5 separate regions of the Homo sapiens genome follow, and all the other regions are linked to region 5. The links are contacts of gene promoters, found by promoter capture Hi-C in blood cells and fetal thymus (Javierre and others, 2016). All regions are on one chromosome and are shown on one strand. The core of a region is centred on a gene start or on the middle of the fragment in contact, and the rest is flanking DNA. Distances in the headings are between cores, read along the strand shown.

Region 1 (2,753 bases), core at 40-2,539, 560 kb after region 5:
CTACTGTCTTCTACATCCCATTTCTGGGATTTTCTAAGGGAAGTGGGGAGGAGAAGGGATTACATCAGGGGTATCCAATCTCTTGCCTTTCCTGAGCCATATTGAAAGAATTGTCTTGGGCCACACATAAAATACACTAATAATAGCTAATGAGCTAAAAAACAAAAGCAAACAAAAAAAACTCCTAATGTTTTAAGAAAGTTTATGAATTTGTGTTGGGCCACATTCAAAGCTGTCCTGGGCCATGGGCCATATGTTGGACAAGCTTGTATTACATACTTCAGCAAACAAAAACATCTATAGAGATAAAAAGAACTATGACTTGGAATTGTCTAGGAAATTTCAGGATATATTTTAACAGGGATTCCCTGGGGGAAGGAGAGGGACAAGCCTAAGCAAAAGTTGAGTGCTTTGTAGGAAGTATTATCACAGGAAAGCAAGAGTAAGAGTGTGTTAGTCTTTTTTCACACTGCTATAAAGAACTGCCTGAGACTGGGTAATTGACAAAGAAAAGAGGTTTAATTGACTCAAAAGAGATTTAACTGACTCACAGTTCTGTGTGGCTGGGGAGGCCTCAGGAAACTTACAATCATGGTGGAAGAGGAAGCAGGGCTGTCTTACGTGGCAACAGGAGAGAGAGTGAGCAAAGGGAGAAGAGCCCCTTATAAAACCATCAGCTGTTATGAGAACTCACTCCCTATCACAAGAACAGCATGGGGGAAACTGCTCCTATGATCCAACCACCTCCCACCAGGTCCCTCCCTCAATACCTGGGGATTACAATTCAAGAAAAGATTTGGGTGGGGACACAAAGTGTGACCATATCAGAGAGGAAGGGAAGTAAAGAATGGAAACAAGAAGCCAATGCAAGGATGTGTGAGTGATGGCTTTGGCCACTGTGTCACAATAAGGCACAAAGTGACAAAGCCAGTTGTTTGATAGGTGCAGGATGTCTCTGGACAAGCTTGTATGGAAAACCATACCTCAGAACAATGCATCAGAGGGACAAATGGAGAGAAAGCCTGCCGATTCCCTCTTGTCTCCTCATTCCCATTTACCAAAATGAACCCCATGGAAGTTAATCCTCTTGTAGTTCTGGGTTGGTCACCTGGCCCCTTTTGGCAGCAGACCTCTGGGGGAAGCAGACCCTGTACCATAAGAAGTGGCCTTTTATGAGATCAGAAGTGAGGGAAGAGCTGAAGACAACACAGGGGGAACCATGAGGTTCTACATAGAATCCTTCCTCTCAGCTGCTGGCCCAGGGGACAGGTGAAGCCAGGAGAATCTGAGGCAGCCCATAGGATGCATCCTACATGTGATAGATTATTACCACAAGTATATCTCATGATAATTGTGGTCAATCCTTTCTTCTCAAGAAATTTCCAGACCCATTGTTTCTTTGATTTCTCCATTCTGTGTCCTTATTGTGCCTAATTCTTAAGCTGTTCTAACAAAGGCAACAAGAGGCAAGAAAGAGAAAACTCATGTTGGTGAATGCTGTCACTTAGAAGTTCACTGGCAAAACTGGTTAAGCAAGATAAAAGTGAATAAGGACAGTTGGCATTAAATGGAAGGTTGGGGGAGAAGTAAGTTCCTGATGTTTGCTTAAGCTTGGTTTTCAGAAAAATCTTTTTTTCTTTTAATGCAGGAGGTGGGGGGATTGTGCTGAGTGTGTCCATTTCCCTGAAACTTGATCCTCTCTCAGAAGGGCAGGAAGAGGGGGCAAGATTGACTAAGAAGAAACACATCAGCAGTGTGAAATACAAATGTTAAATCTATGTCATGGGGAAATCGTGCACGAGGCAGCCCTAAGATGTCTAGGGCTGAAATAACAACTATTTCTATCACAGCCTGATCTGACAAATTTATAAATCTTAAAACAACTTTAGGAGCAACACTTTGAAACAAAAGAGATGAAAACAAAACAAAACAATGCTTTGAGTTTATATACATAAATGGTCTAGGTAATAACTGGCCCCGAAAAGCGATCACAAGCCTTCCCTGGAAGTATTGCTCTTAAACTTGGAAATTATGCTATTATCAGCAGTTGACTGGAAGCTTCAGGTCCATCTGAACTGTGACTCTGCTGGTCGGCTCCTAATTAACCTCTGTCCTGCTGACTGTATAATTCAGCAGGGGCCTGCAGATGCTCCGCTTTTAAGTTAACTGAGGCCGTCTGCTCATTCAAGCTAATCCTGATAGTGCCTTAACAAGAAGGAAAAGGAAAAGATTAGATGTACCTGAAGCTACAAATGAGAAAGCTGTGTGGGTGGAAGAAGAGGAACCATTATTTTCCCCTTTTGTCTGTTTGAGGCCCCTATTTTTTAAGCTGTCCAGTGTAACTAATTAGGAGAAAGAATTCTGAATACTCCTTCTTATGCTCGTAGTCAAACAACCAATTTGATTAATTTTTTTATCTAAACAGATTTGGTATGTAAAATTCTTACTTGACATTTATACCTTTTTTCAAAATCCAATCATTTTCATACCACCTTTACACTTCTTGATATGTCTCTGGATCACTTTTAAATGGACTTACTTTGAAGAAAGAAAATAGCTACTTTAGCCTTGTTGCAGCAACAGTATTGTGGAATTACAATTTTAATGGGCTTTGTATGTGTGTGTATGAGTTTGTGCATGTCATCTTTCAAATTTGCAATCTCTACTCTTTTAGATGTTTGGAGAATAATAAAGTATGGATGTGACACTTTTCAATTAGAGCACTGAAACCATAAAATGGAACCACAGTGTCA
Region 2 (2,804 bases), core at 203-2,702, 600 kb after region 5:
TAAGAACTGAGGGAGTGGAAATGAAAAAAAGTCCCAGCCATTACCAGGCTCCCAGATGAGTAGAGGGCACAAACTCCAAAACACATGAGACATACAGTGGAAGCCTGAACACAATCTTTTGTGAGTCCACATGATGGCATAATTTGGAGTTTCAGGATGGCAGAAGAGGAGGCCAGAATACACAAGCTATTGCCTTCATTGCAGGCATTTGACCATAGTAATGAGCAATACAGACTCTGGAGTGAGACTATGTGAGTTTGACTCCTGCCTTCATCATCTTCTAGTTCTCCCTAGGTAAGCTATGACATAGCCTCCCTGGGTCTCGATTTGCTCCTCTATGAGGTAGCACTCATATTAATGTAAACCAAAAGTACCTGAGACAGGTCTGAATCAGTTTAGAAAGTTGATTTTTGCCAAGGTTAAGGACACACTCATGACACATCCTCAGGAGATCCTGACATGTGCCCAAGGTGGTGGGGTACAGCTCAGCTTTATACATTTTAAGGAGATATGAGACATCAATCCATACATGTAAGATGTACATTGGTTCAGTCCAGAAAGGCAGCATGACTTGAAGTGGGAGCTTCCAGGTCATAGGTAGATTAGATTTTCCAATTGGCAATTGGTTGAAAGAGTTATTATCAATAGAAAGGAATGTCTGGGTACAATAAGAGGTCATAGAGACCAGGGTTTTGTCATACAGATGAAGCCTCCAGGTAGCAGACTTCAGAGAGAATAAATTGTAAATGTTTCTTATCAAACTTAGAGTCCGTTCTACCAGTAATTCCAAAAGGGAGGAGGGTATAATGAGGCATGTCCAGCTCCCCCTTCCCATCATAGCCTGAACTTGTTCTTCAGGTTAATTTTGGAATGTCCTTGGCCAGGAGGAAGGGTTCATTCAGATGGTTGAGGGGCCTTAGAATTTTAATTTTGGTTTACATTAGTCAGCTTGGGCTACCACAACAATATACCATAGACTGAGTGCCTTAAACAGTGAATAATTATATCTCACTGTTCTGGAGACTGGGAAGTCCAAAATCAAGGTGATAGCCAACTTGGTTCCCCGGTGAGAAATTCTTCTGACTTTCAGAAATTCTTCTGCCTTTTCCCTGTGTCCTCACATGGCAGTGACAGGAGAGGGAAGCAAGTTGTCTGGAGCCGCTTCTTAGGGGGGCCCTAATCCCATTATGAGGACCCCACCCTCATGGCTTTATCTAAACCCAGTTGCCTCCCCAAAGGCCCATCCACAAATACCACTACACTGGGGGTTAAGGCATCAACATATGATTTCTGCAGGGGTGGGGAGGCACAATTCAGTCCATAGCAGCAGGACAAATAGTGTTTTCCTCACAAGATTGTTGGGTCTTAAATGAGCCAGTATATATAGAGTGCCTAGAACAGTGGCTGCCACATATTAAATGCATTATTTGTAAGTGCTAGCTGTTATTATTAAAGCCACATAAGCTGAGTCAAAAACTGGGAAAGGTCAAGTGTGTCAAGGCCTCACTTGCTGGGATGTATTTCCTTGGGGTCATATTGCTTCTCAATGGAAGGGAGAAAAATGAGCTTATTCTTGAGAATTAAGAATGGGCCTATTTTCATGCAAATATTGGCTTGGAGAGCCCCTTTGCAATCAATTATTACTAAGGTGAAAATCCTGAACCTCTCTACTCTCTGTGCTTTCATACCTTCCCGCTGCATTCTCATCTTTCACTTGTGATCAAATGCCTAACAATCTCAGAAACATGTCCACTTAGGGGATTACTCTTGTTAAAGAGTATTTAGCTTTTAATCCCACAAGGCACAAGCAGTTTGAAATATAAGACATCATAGAAAAAGAAGTATTTAGCAGGGTTAATCTTGGAGGTGAGAGGTGAAAAGGGGCGAAATGGAATCCAAAGGAAACCCATCTCAATGAAAATATGAGTTTTAAGAGGGGCAAGCAATGGTTAATTTTTTCAGCCTATCAGTAGCTCTAGAATGGTGTACAAAAATGTTTTACTCAGCTCCCATACCTTCTTCATAGAGAATACATTGAACTTCAGCTTATTTTCTACTGGAGGCACGCTGCTGGATTAAGTTCTGCATTCAGGAGTTGTGGCATTCATGTCCTTGGTTAAGCAAACGGAGATTTCAAAATCCTTTAGGCTGGAAGAACTGGGTCCTTCATCCCTTTTTTAAATTCTTAAGTCTCATTCCTTGCTTGTTTCATTTAGGCTGCTGAATTCATTGGCAATTGTTGACAACTTGACTGTTTTGATTGTTTCCATCTTAGACATTTCCATTGCTGTTAGACTATAAAGTTGACAGCCCAAATCCTAAAATACCTGGTTGGCCCGTTCAATCTATTTCTTTCCTGCTTAGTCCTCCTTTAGAAGGAATGAAGCAAGATGTTGTAATTAGAATGGTGATGAAAAAGTGTGAACATACACTGTCAATAGGGGAGTGGAAGGCACAGGTACTCTCATGCATTTTTTAAAATAAGAGCTTTATCGAGATAGAATTCACATATCATAAATTCATCCGTTTAAAGTATAAAATTCAGTGGGGTTTAGCATATTTATAGATGTAGGAGCATCACCACTATCTGAATTCAGAACATTTTCGTCACACCGAAATGAAATCCTGCACCCAATACCACTTACTCTTTAGCTCCTTCCTTCCCCCAACCCCTGGTGACCATTAATCGATTTCTGTATGGATTTGCCTATGCTAGATATTTCATGATATAGGAATCATATATTCTGTGGTCTTTTGTGGCCTTCTTTCACTTAATATTCTCAAGGCCTCATATATTCTTGATA
Region 3 (2,700 bases), core at 48-2,547, 520 kb after region 5:
TCACCCTCCAGGCACATGATGATACCCTAGCTATACCTATTTATGTTGGGCACATTAATGTGTGTTTACCAATTAGGAAGCTCCACTATGCATCGGTGTCCAGATTTCTTATTGGAGTTTCATTACTAGACATAATTGCTTAAGTCATTGGCCAAGTGATTTAACTCAATCTCTAGCTCCTCTCACCTTCCCTGGAGGTCAGGTGGTCTAAAGTTCCATTTCCGTAGCCATGCGGTTGGTCTCTCTGGTGACCAGATCTCTTATCCCAAAGCTATCTAGGGATCCATCAGTGTCACCTCATTAGCATAACAGATATCCTATCACTCAGGAAATTCCAAGGATTTGTGAAACTGCCAGGAACTGGGGACAAAGAAAAGAAATATTCCCCATTATACCACACCAGTTGTAGCCAGAGAAACAGCCACACCAACCGGAGATGACTGTGACCTTACACAACTAATTAGCAAGACTTTTCAAAAAAACTCCTTCCCTGCCCCCAAACTAGAACTAGAACCAGACAAGGGAGAAGAGGGTGGTCTGTAAATGGGTGCCTCTCCATTCTAAGGCTCTTAAAGCCACAGGTCTAGTCTGGACTGGAAGAGGGAATGAGCCCTGAATCAGAGACTGATATTATAAACTGAGCCCAAATACACTTTAATAATGGAAAAACCCAAAAATTGAGATTTTTTTCCCCCACCATATTATTAAGTGATGGGAAAATAGGATTTGACAGCGTGGTTGAGAGCAGGGGCTAGAAAGATAAAACGGTTTCACATTTAAAGCATACTGAGTTTAACACTCACTAATAGCTGTTTATAGCTGCTAGGATGGCTAATATAAAAAAGATGGAAAACATCAAGTGTTGACAAGGATGTGGAACTGCCAGAACTCTCATACACTTCTGCGGAGCGCAAATTGCTACAATCACTTTGAAAATAGTTTTGGCAGCATCTGTAAAAGCTGAAGATACGCATACCACATGACCCAGCCATTCCACCTGTATGGATGGACTTCAACAGATACTCACTCACATGTTTATCAGAAGACGTGTACTACAATACTCATAGCAACACTATCAATAACCCCCAGTTGAAGAGTATCCAAATGACCATCCAGTAGTAGAATGGATAAAGAATAAACTGTGGCATGTTCATAAATGGAATGCTACACAGCAATTAGAACAAATAATCCAAGGCTACATGCGACAATGTGAATGCATCCCACAAACTTAATATTGAGACAGAGAAATCTAGTAACCGAAGAGTACGTGCTAATAGGCAAAACATATCTATGTTGCTGGAGACAGGATAGTGACCTGAAAGGTGGGAGTTAGCAAAAAGGAAAGGAATAGGATAGAGGATTCTGGAGGGTTGGGTGCTGGATACAGGGGTGAGTTCCATCTGTGAAAGTGATTTTTACACTTTTCTGTACATAAACTATAATAAAAATTGTTTATAATAAATTGTTTTTAAAAGGAAAGAAAGTAAACGGGGAAGTTGCTGAGAAGACATTCTTTACTGGATCTGAAGCAAGAGATCTGTGGGTGTCTGCAGTAGCTCCACGGACTTGCTACTCCCTTCATTTCTTTCACATGTACTACACGGCCTTCCTCATAAAAGCCTTTTGAGTATCTGCATCTTTCTCCTTTCACTTCTCCCCAGCCTATTTCTTGAGCACTTGGTAGCCCCAATTTTGTAGGGGGTCTTAGTTGATTTCTCTTGGCTAATTGCCAATGTTTCTAGAAAGAGTTTCTTGTTGGTCGTTATGGATCAGGACACTGCTTATCAAAGGCAGGGGCTAAGGATGAGTCAGTTTCAGCTTAAAAGGGGATGTTGGGTATGGCAAGCCTTACAAAGCAGTCACTAGTGTGCCCAATACACTTGCCCACCTCACAGGGTGACATAAGTTTCTAAGAATATCATGGATGGAAATAAAAGTTAGCAGTTGTACTTTTCTATATTCACTGATGGAAAAATTAGACTTATGAAAAATTTCTATGTAGTCAGTGAATCCATATATATATATATATATATATATATATATATATATATATATATATATATATATATATATATATATATATATAAAATCTGTTGAGAGACCATCATTGGTCTGTTGTGTTCCTGAACATCTTGTAGGTAAAAGAATTGGCAACTTTTTTTAGGGACTATTTCAAGAGTGATGGTATAACAATCAAGCCCTGAAGATACAGTGTTCCCTCTGGAGCAAGGTGCAGATTTGTTTGTAGACCACTATGAGGACTCAAGTTTCCTTCCTTCAAGAGGAATCTTGACAATTCCTCTCCTGAAAAACAATTTACTGCATGTGCACGTGTCACCTGGCCCTCATTACCTCACCCCTGTGGGACTTAGGGCTTAGGGAACTGACGCAGGAAAATGATACTCAAGCTATAGCTATTTATAGAAGTAACAAAATGTCTTTTGTCTCTGAACCAGGAGTCTCATGTCCTCGGGCAGCATCCATGAAACTGTGGCAGGCTAAATTATCATTTTGCAAGTTGGGTAAAATCTCAGATCCTTTATCATTCTTGATATCATCATGCTTCCATGTGCATACATTGGAAAAATAATGCATCTATCTATAGATAATATTGACAGGGTGGGGGGAATTGCAAAAACCCACTTACATAATTCTTTCCTCTGGCCCGGATATAACCATATATTTCATATTTTCTCTGTG
Region 4 (2,909 bases), core at 115-2,614, 620 kb after region 5:
TACTCAAACAGCCATAAAATAGCAGAACAGCATCACTGGAGTTTGCTAGAAATGTAAGATCATGGGCATGATCCCTGACCCAGTATCAGTGGGGATGGAGTCTAGGACTTGTGTTTTAACAAGTTTGCCAGATGATTCTGAGACAGGCTTGTTTAACTAACCATGACTGCATTCAAGCCTTTGCCCTAGAGCCACATTATGTGTTTGAATGTGTCTTCCCACCTAGACTGTGAACTTCCCGAGGGCAGGTCTAAGCCATATGGTTGTTTTTCATAGGCGCTTAATGCAAGCTTGTTGAGTAGTCACCAACAGTATCTTCATGTGGCCCTGGAGTACTGCTTAAGTATTGTGGGTTCTGCAGAGAATTTGCTACTCATCAATAAAAGAATCAACCCTCCAATTGCAGTTTATATATTTTATTTCTCTTTCTTTGTTAGATTCGATGTCAGTGGTGGGAAGAGAGGACAATATTTTATCTAATATAAATGTCCAGGAAGAGTGTCCTGACCAACCTTTGACTTCATCTTGGCTCCCTACTGAGTGCAGAGGAAGAAAGTTAATGTATCAGACATTTATTGCCTACCAGACACTATGCTGTTTTTGTTTAACCCTCCCAACAACCTACGATTACTTCCATTTTAAAGATGAGTAAACTGAGGCTCATAGAAGCTAGGAGCTTCCCTATGATGGTGCAGCCAGAAGTCTGAGACTATAGGTCCCACTTGGAACTATCACACTAAATCCCGTCTATGGTTTCCTGCCTACTAAGTACGTCTGGACTTTTCATGGAAGACTGCGGAGTCTCTGTGGTCTCCTGAGACCATGCAATTTCCCAGCCCAGTGGTTAAACCAGGTTTTACTGTGTCTCTATGATCCCTGGCTTTGCTTTTGGCCTTCTCAAGCACTAAAAACTCCCTGGCTACAACAGCATTTTCTTGCCAGTTTTCAGTAGACTCGAGTTCAAGGCAATTATCACCTGAGCAGAGCCTCCTGTCCTCAGACAGTAGTGAGAGGAGATGTTCCTAGAACCTATTAAAATCTGCCTGGAGCAGTCTGAGTCATGCGCCCTGTGAGTCAAGATGCCTCTGAATTGGAGTAGGCAGCAGGGCCGTTGGTTTTTATGGCAATGCACTCAGAACTCCTGGGGTTATGTTAATTGGCCTTTTAAGCCCTGGCAATCTCCAGTTTTGGCATGGGGATGGCTATTCACAATTGTGCCCCAGATAAAGAGTGATTGATTTTGGACAAAGCCTGTGGTCTGGAAGGCTCTCCTTGCTGGATCCCAAAGCACCAAGGGCACACCCCTGTCTAGAGCTCTGGCCCAGGTTTTACAGCCTTGGACTTGAGAGCTGAATAAAAAGAAAAGTCAGACTCACGGTTCTCCCATGGGCTTTTCTCAGGCACAGGTGTTCCAGGGCACCAGGGAATAGACACGTGTTTGGAACTGGGAGCTCAGAAAGCTGGCTTGGGCCCCAAACCTAGTCCCAAGTTACCTTTCTATTGTCTGGGGGAAGAGGAGAAGGCACTGAAGATGAGGAGGGGACAAGGGGATTACTCTACTTGGCAGTTACTCCCACACATAATCTAGAAAGAAAAGTTCCAGCTGGTGAGTGCTTTTACCACCATGCTTAAAGAGAAAGTTAACAGAAATATCAACTGTCTTCATTCATTCATTCACTCAGCAACCATCCTTTCAGCACCTACTGAGTATCAGGTGTTGTTCTGGGGGCTAAGTTACAAGGAAGACACCATGAACCCTGCCCTCAAGGAAATCCCAACCTAACAGGACACTTGTATTAGTGACTCCCTAGTCCTTTGGAGTCATCCCCTATCTGCAACTCAGTGACTCATAATCCCCAGAAGAAGTAGGAAGGAAACGTCTTTGCAGCCTCAGGCCCAAAGGCTCCTGGCTCCACTCCCACACCTGCAGGCTCAGGCACGGAACAACACCTGGCCCCCTCTGACTCCTCCCACAGGAGCCCCTCTGATGACCTCTCCAGGCAGACACAGCCTTACATGCCCAGGTACCTCAGCCCTTCCTGAAGCTACCCTCAGTCTTAGCCAAGATAATTCTTTGTTTCTCCCTAGCTCTGCTGAGCTCTTGCTCTAGCTCCATTAAAATCCCTCATTCTTTCTAGAAAGCTGAGGAGAAAACTATTACGTCCTTGACAAATGTGGTTCCCCATCCCAGATCCCAGTCTTAACCACAAGCCTAAGAGACTAGAAAATTCAAAAGTGATTAGGATCAGTCACATCCTTATTCTGAAACTCTCCCCTATAGACTTTAAGGACCAGAGAAACAAAAGAATCCCATTCACCTCCCCCTTACACTGTCATCTCCCATCTGCGGGAATATGAGAGTGAGAGAAGCAGAGAAAGAAAGGTGGTGGGCAGCCAGATTGAGGGAAAACGGTGGACTCCAGGCAGAAGAAAGCTTCCTGGCAAGTCCTCTGAGAGGACGCTCCTCTCTCTGCTTCTGGGGACTCCCTGTGTGAGGGAGACAGGTCAGTAGGGTGAGCAGGAGCAGGCAGAGGACCTGTTAAGTAGGAGCAGATGAGGATAAAATGGGAGTGTGAGGTGGGACGCCCCTACTGGCCTCCTCCAGGATTGCAGACACCTGCAGTCCTCAGTACCAGGGGCCAAGAGTGAGTCATCCTTTAGCCCCACCTCTCTGGGGTGCACAACACCGGCAGGTGCTGTTCCTCTTTTCCTTCAAGATTGGCAATGGGGGCCAGGCATGGTGGCTCATGCCTGTAATCCCAACAAGGATTGGGAGGCCGAGACAGGAGGATCATTTGAGGTCAGGAGTTCAAGACCAGGCTGGCCAATATGGGGAAACCATATATCTACTAAAATACAAAAATTAGGTGGGCATGGTGGCAGGTGTCTACTCCCAGCTACTCGGGAGG
Region 5 (2,700 bases), core at 62-2,561:
TGCGCCTAGTGTTTTAAAGCAAGCTGGGAGGCGAAGCGCGGGCGCTTGGGGACGCGGGGACCCGGGGACGGAATAAACTCTGTCGTGGGGCCCTCACTCTCGAGCTGCAGAGCTGGGACATTGTTGCTAAGTGACTACGAGCCAGGCAATTCACATCTCCCTGGGCCTCGGTTCCCCACCTGTAAAACAAGGGGGCTGGACCGGTCATCTATCCCGTTCATTTATAGACTTAGCTCCAAATACCGAATAAAAGACAGATATTTTAACTCCCAGTGGAAAGACAAGCCTCTAGTTGCAAAGATAAATGGGATTCGTAAAAGTGATCACCACGCGAGATTATTTTTCGAATCGCCTTCCCTTCTCCTGACACGCGGGACTATTAAACGTGTGTGTGTGCTGGGCCATTTCTTTACTGAACTCCAAACTAACACCACCGAGCGATAAAAAACAGGAGAAGGTGATGGAGGCTTAATCGCTAGGAGAGGAGGCGGCGTGGCTGCTGCTTTGAGGAGTTCACTTTGAATCAAGCGGCCGCGGCGATTGGCTGAAAAGCACGTGGTGCGCGCCCCGCAGGACTGCGCCCCGGCTGCCCCTGCAGTCGCCTGGCTTAGGGCAGAGTCCAGCCGGGGGTGCCGCACCCACTGGGGAGTGGGGAGGGAGGACACATAGGAAATGCCTGGGGCTGGAGTCTCTTTGGCTCTCTGCCAGCAAGAAACTTAAACGTCCTGGCTTGCTCAACCCGAGTGTCCCTAAACTGTCCAGACTTTTGCCCGTCCATTGCCACTATCTCTCCCCACTCTGGGTGTCCTACCCAAGGCGCTGTCTATGCGTGCCCAGGGCCTGTCCTGCGGATACCCAGCTCGCCCCTTGCAGCCCTTTTTAGAGCATCTCGCGGGCTCTGGCATCACCAAGCGCACAGCCCCGGGCTGCGCTCCCCTAAGGTGGGTCCCTCAGATCCGGGGCTGTCCATTAACCAGGCTGGCCCAAAGAGGCGCAGACACTCGAACCCGGGAAAACTTATTTTATTCTCGGTTCCCGGGGTTGCAGCTGCCAGCGGCTGAGACAGTGCGTCCGCTTTGTCTCTCTGCACTCCCCGCAGCCCCCCTCTCCCGCTTCCTCTCCCGATTAACTCCCCCGACACGCTCTTCTCTAGCTCCTCTCCTCCTCCCACTCCTTCTCCTCCTCTTCCTCCTCCTACACCACAGGCCGCGCTAATGCGCTTCCTCCCTCCCCCGGTGTCGGTCTCTTTGCATACGCGCCCCCTCCCCTCCCCGCCGCGCCACTTATAGCGGGGCGCACGGCGGCGGGGCGCAGACTGCTCTGGCAGCCGGAGAGGAGGCGGTGCGGCGGTGGCGCTGCGGAGACCCGGTCCAGACGCCTGGCGGCCGCCGGCACACAAGGCGCTTTCTAGCTCCCTCCCCCGAGCGCACAGCCCGCCTCCTTCCGCGGCGCCTGCAGTGGCAGGCTTGCTCTGCCCTACCGTGACGCGCTCCGGAGACGCTCTGCGGGTCCTGGACACCGGGTCCGCGGCGTGGGGACGACAGACGGAGGCGAACGCCATCGGTAGCCGGTCCGCGAGCCATCGTTCGGGGCGCAGTCCTCTCCCCGGCTGGCCCTCCTTTCTCCGGGGCATTCGCCACCGCTTCCCTGGGCTGAGACGACCGGTTCGTCGCCTCCTTGCCCGTGACCGTCGCTAGAACTCAGTTGTGCGTTGCGGCCAGTCGCCACTGCTGTAAGTTTCCCCCACTGCCCCGGACCTGTTGCAGGCGCTGCGGGCTTCAGGGGCTGCTTCGGCTGCAGGGGTGTGTTCGCGAGGGGTGAGCGTGCTCCGAGCACTCGGGAGCTTCGACTAGAGGGCAAGGGGAGCTCTTCTCGGTGCGGAGATCACGGTGCCCGCCGCTGCCCTCCCACAGCAGGCAGAAGCCGGGCATCGCCGGAGAGGTCGACCGGCCTCCCCTCCGCGGTGCAATGTCTGGGGCGAGCCGCTGGGGAAGCGAGGAGCCGAGCTAAGGATACAGTCAGCCTCTCTCCTCTGCGGAAAGCAGCGCTTTCCTGGGGGTGAATGTCGCGCTGCGTCGCTCCCCGCAGCCTCCAGGGCCGAGCGCGCGGGATGGTTGGCCCACGTTGCATCCTCCCCGGCTTGGAGGAAAGTTGGGGCCATGCACAGACACCCTGAGTGCGGGCATGTTCACTGCGGCGGAAATGTCTATAGAGAATGAATGAAAACTGCTTTCTGAAAAACTAGTTTCTTGATCTGTCGTGTTAACATTATTAGTTACAAAGGATAGGAATTGGTGGGCCTGGAGATGAAACACTGAATTTATCCACATGCGGTTTGGTGTCACACAGGCATGGCCAGCTTGTTAAATAGCGTTGCAAGTGTTAATAAAAAGACTCTGGCAAGAAGCTACTTTTGTTAACAAGATCTTTATAATGTTCTATTGTTACCGGTAATGTAAATGCCCAGAAAAAAATCTGCTTAGTTTCTCTTTTGATTGGATTGAGATCAGGTTCAAAACCTGGAGAAGGGTGCGGGACGCTAAGCATTGGAGGCAGAGAGCCTGAGTTAGGAGCATGAAGTGAACTGAAGTTACTGTAACTGAAGCCCTTTTGATGTTCACAGTAATAGCAGCCCTTTCTCTGTCTTCTTTGCAGACGTAGGTTAAGTACATGTGTGCATTTTCTTGGCCACTTACTTGG

What was found. Contacts are between HindIII fragments. The CHiCAGO score rates a contact against its expected background, and 5 or more counts as called.
Region 1: a contact is called between a fragment that was not itself captured here and the fragment with the promoter of ENC1 in region 5, in 1 of 17 cell types (endothelial precursors). The highest score is 6.2, in endothelial precursors.
Region 2: a contact is called between a fragment that was not itself captured here and the fragment with the promoter of ENC1 in region 5, in 4 of 17 cell types (M0 macrophages, M2 macrophages, M1 macrophages and 1 more). The highest score is 9.1, in M0 macrophages.
Region 3: a contact is called between a fragment that was not itself captured here and the fragment with the promoter of ENC1 in region 5, in 1 of 17 cell types (endothelial precursors). The highest score is 6.5, in endothelial precursors.
Region 4: a contact is called between a fragment that was not itself captured here and the fragment with the promoter of ENC1 in region 5, in 2 of 17 cell types (M0 macrophages and M2 macrophages). The highest score is 5.6, in M0 macrophages.

Annotation. Positions count from the first base shown.
Region 1 is chr5:74,075,080-74,077,832 of GRCh38, reverse strand. The region is part of intron 2 of LINC02122 (long intergenic non-protein coding RNA 2122); the gene reads left to right. Among named protein-coding and RNA genes, the nearest start is that of LINC02122, 27 kb to the left of the region's middle. The HindIII fragment of the contact is 646 bases long and covers 967-1,612 here.
Region 2 is chr5:74,036,822-74,039,625 of GRCh38, reverse strand. All of the region lies in intron 2 of LINC02122 (long intergenic non-protein coding RNA 2122), which reads left to right. Among named protein-coding and RNA genes, the nearest start is that of LINC02122, 65 kb to the left of the region's middle. The HindIII fragment of the contact is 9,651 bases long and covers 1-2,804 here.
Region 3 is chr5:74,118,409-74,121,108 of GRCh38, reverse strand. No RefSeq gene overlaps it. Among named protein-coding and RNA genes, the nearest start is that of LINC02122, 17 kb to the right of the region's middle. The HindIII fragment of the contact is 4,647 bases long and covers 1-2,700 here.
Region 4 is chr5:74,016,290-74,019,198 of GRCh38, reverse strand. No RefSeq gene overlaps it. Among named protein-coding and RNA genes, the nearest start is that of LINC02122, 85 kb to the left of the region's middle. The HindIII fragment of the contact is 2,144 bases long and covers 293-2,436 here.
Region 5 is chr5:74,639,339-74,642,038 of GRCh38, reverse strand. It overlaps ENC1 (ectodermal-neural cortex 1), which reads left to right and starts at 1,311. Exons shown (of 3, transcript NM_003633.4): 1 at 1,311-1,732. It also overlaps a transcript of HEXB not described here. RefSeq lists enhancers at 1-325, 326-1,041, 1,503-1,862 and a silencer at 1,203-1,462. The HindIII fragment of the contact is 20,564 bases long and covers 1-2,700 here.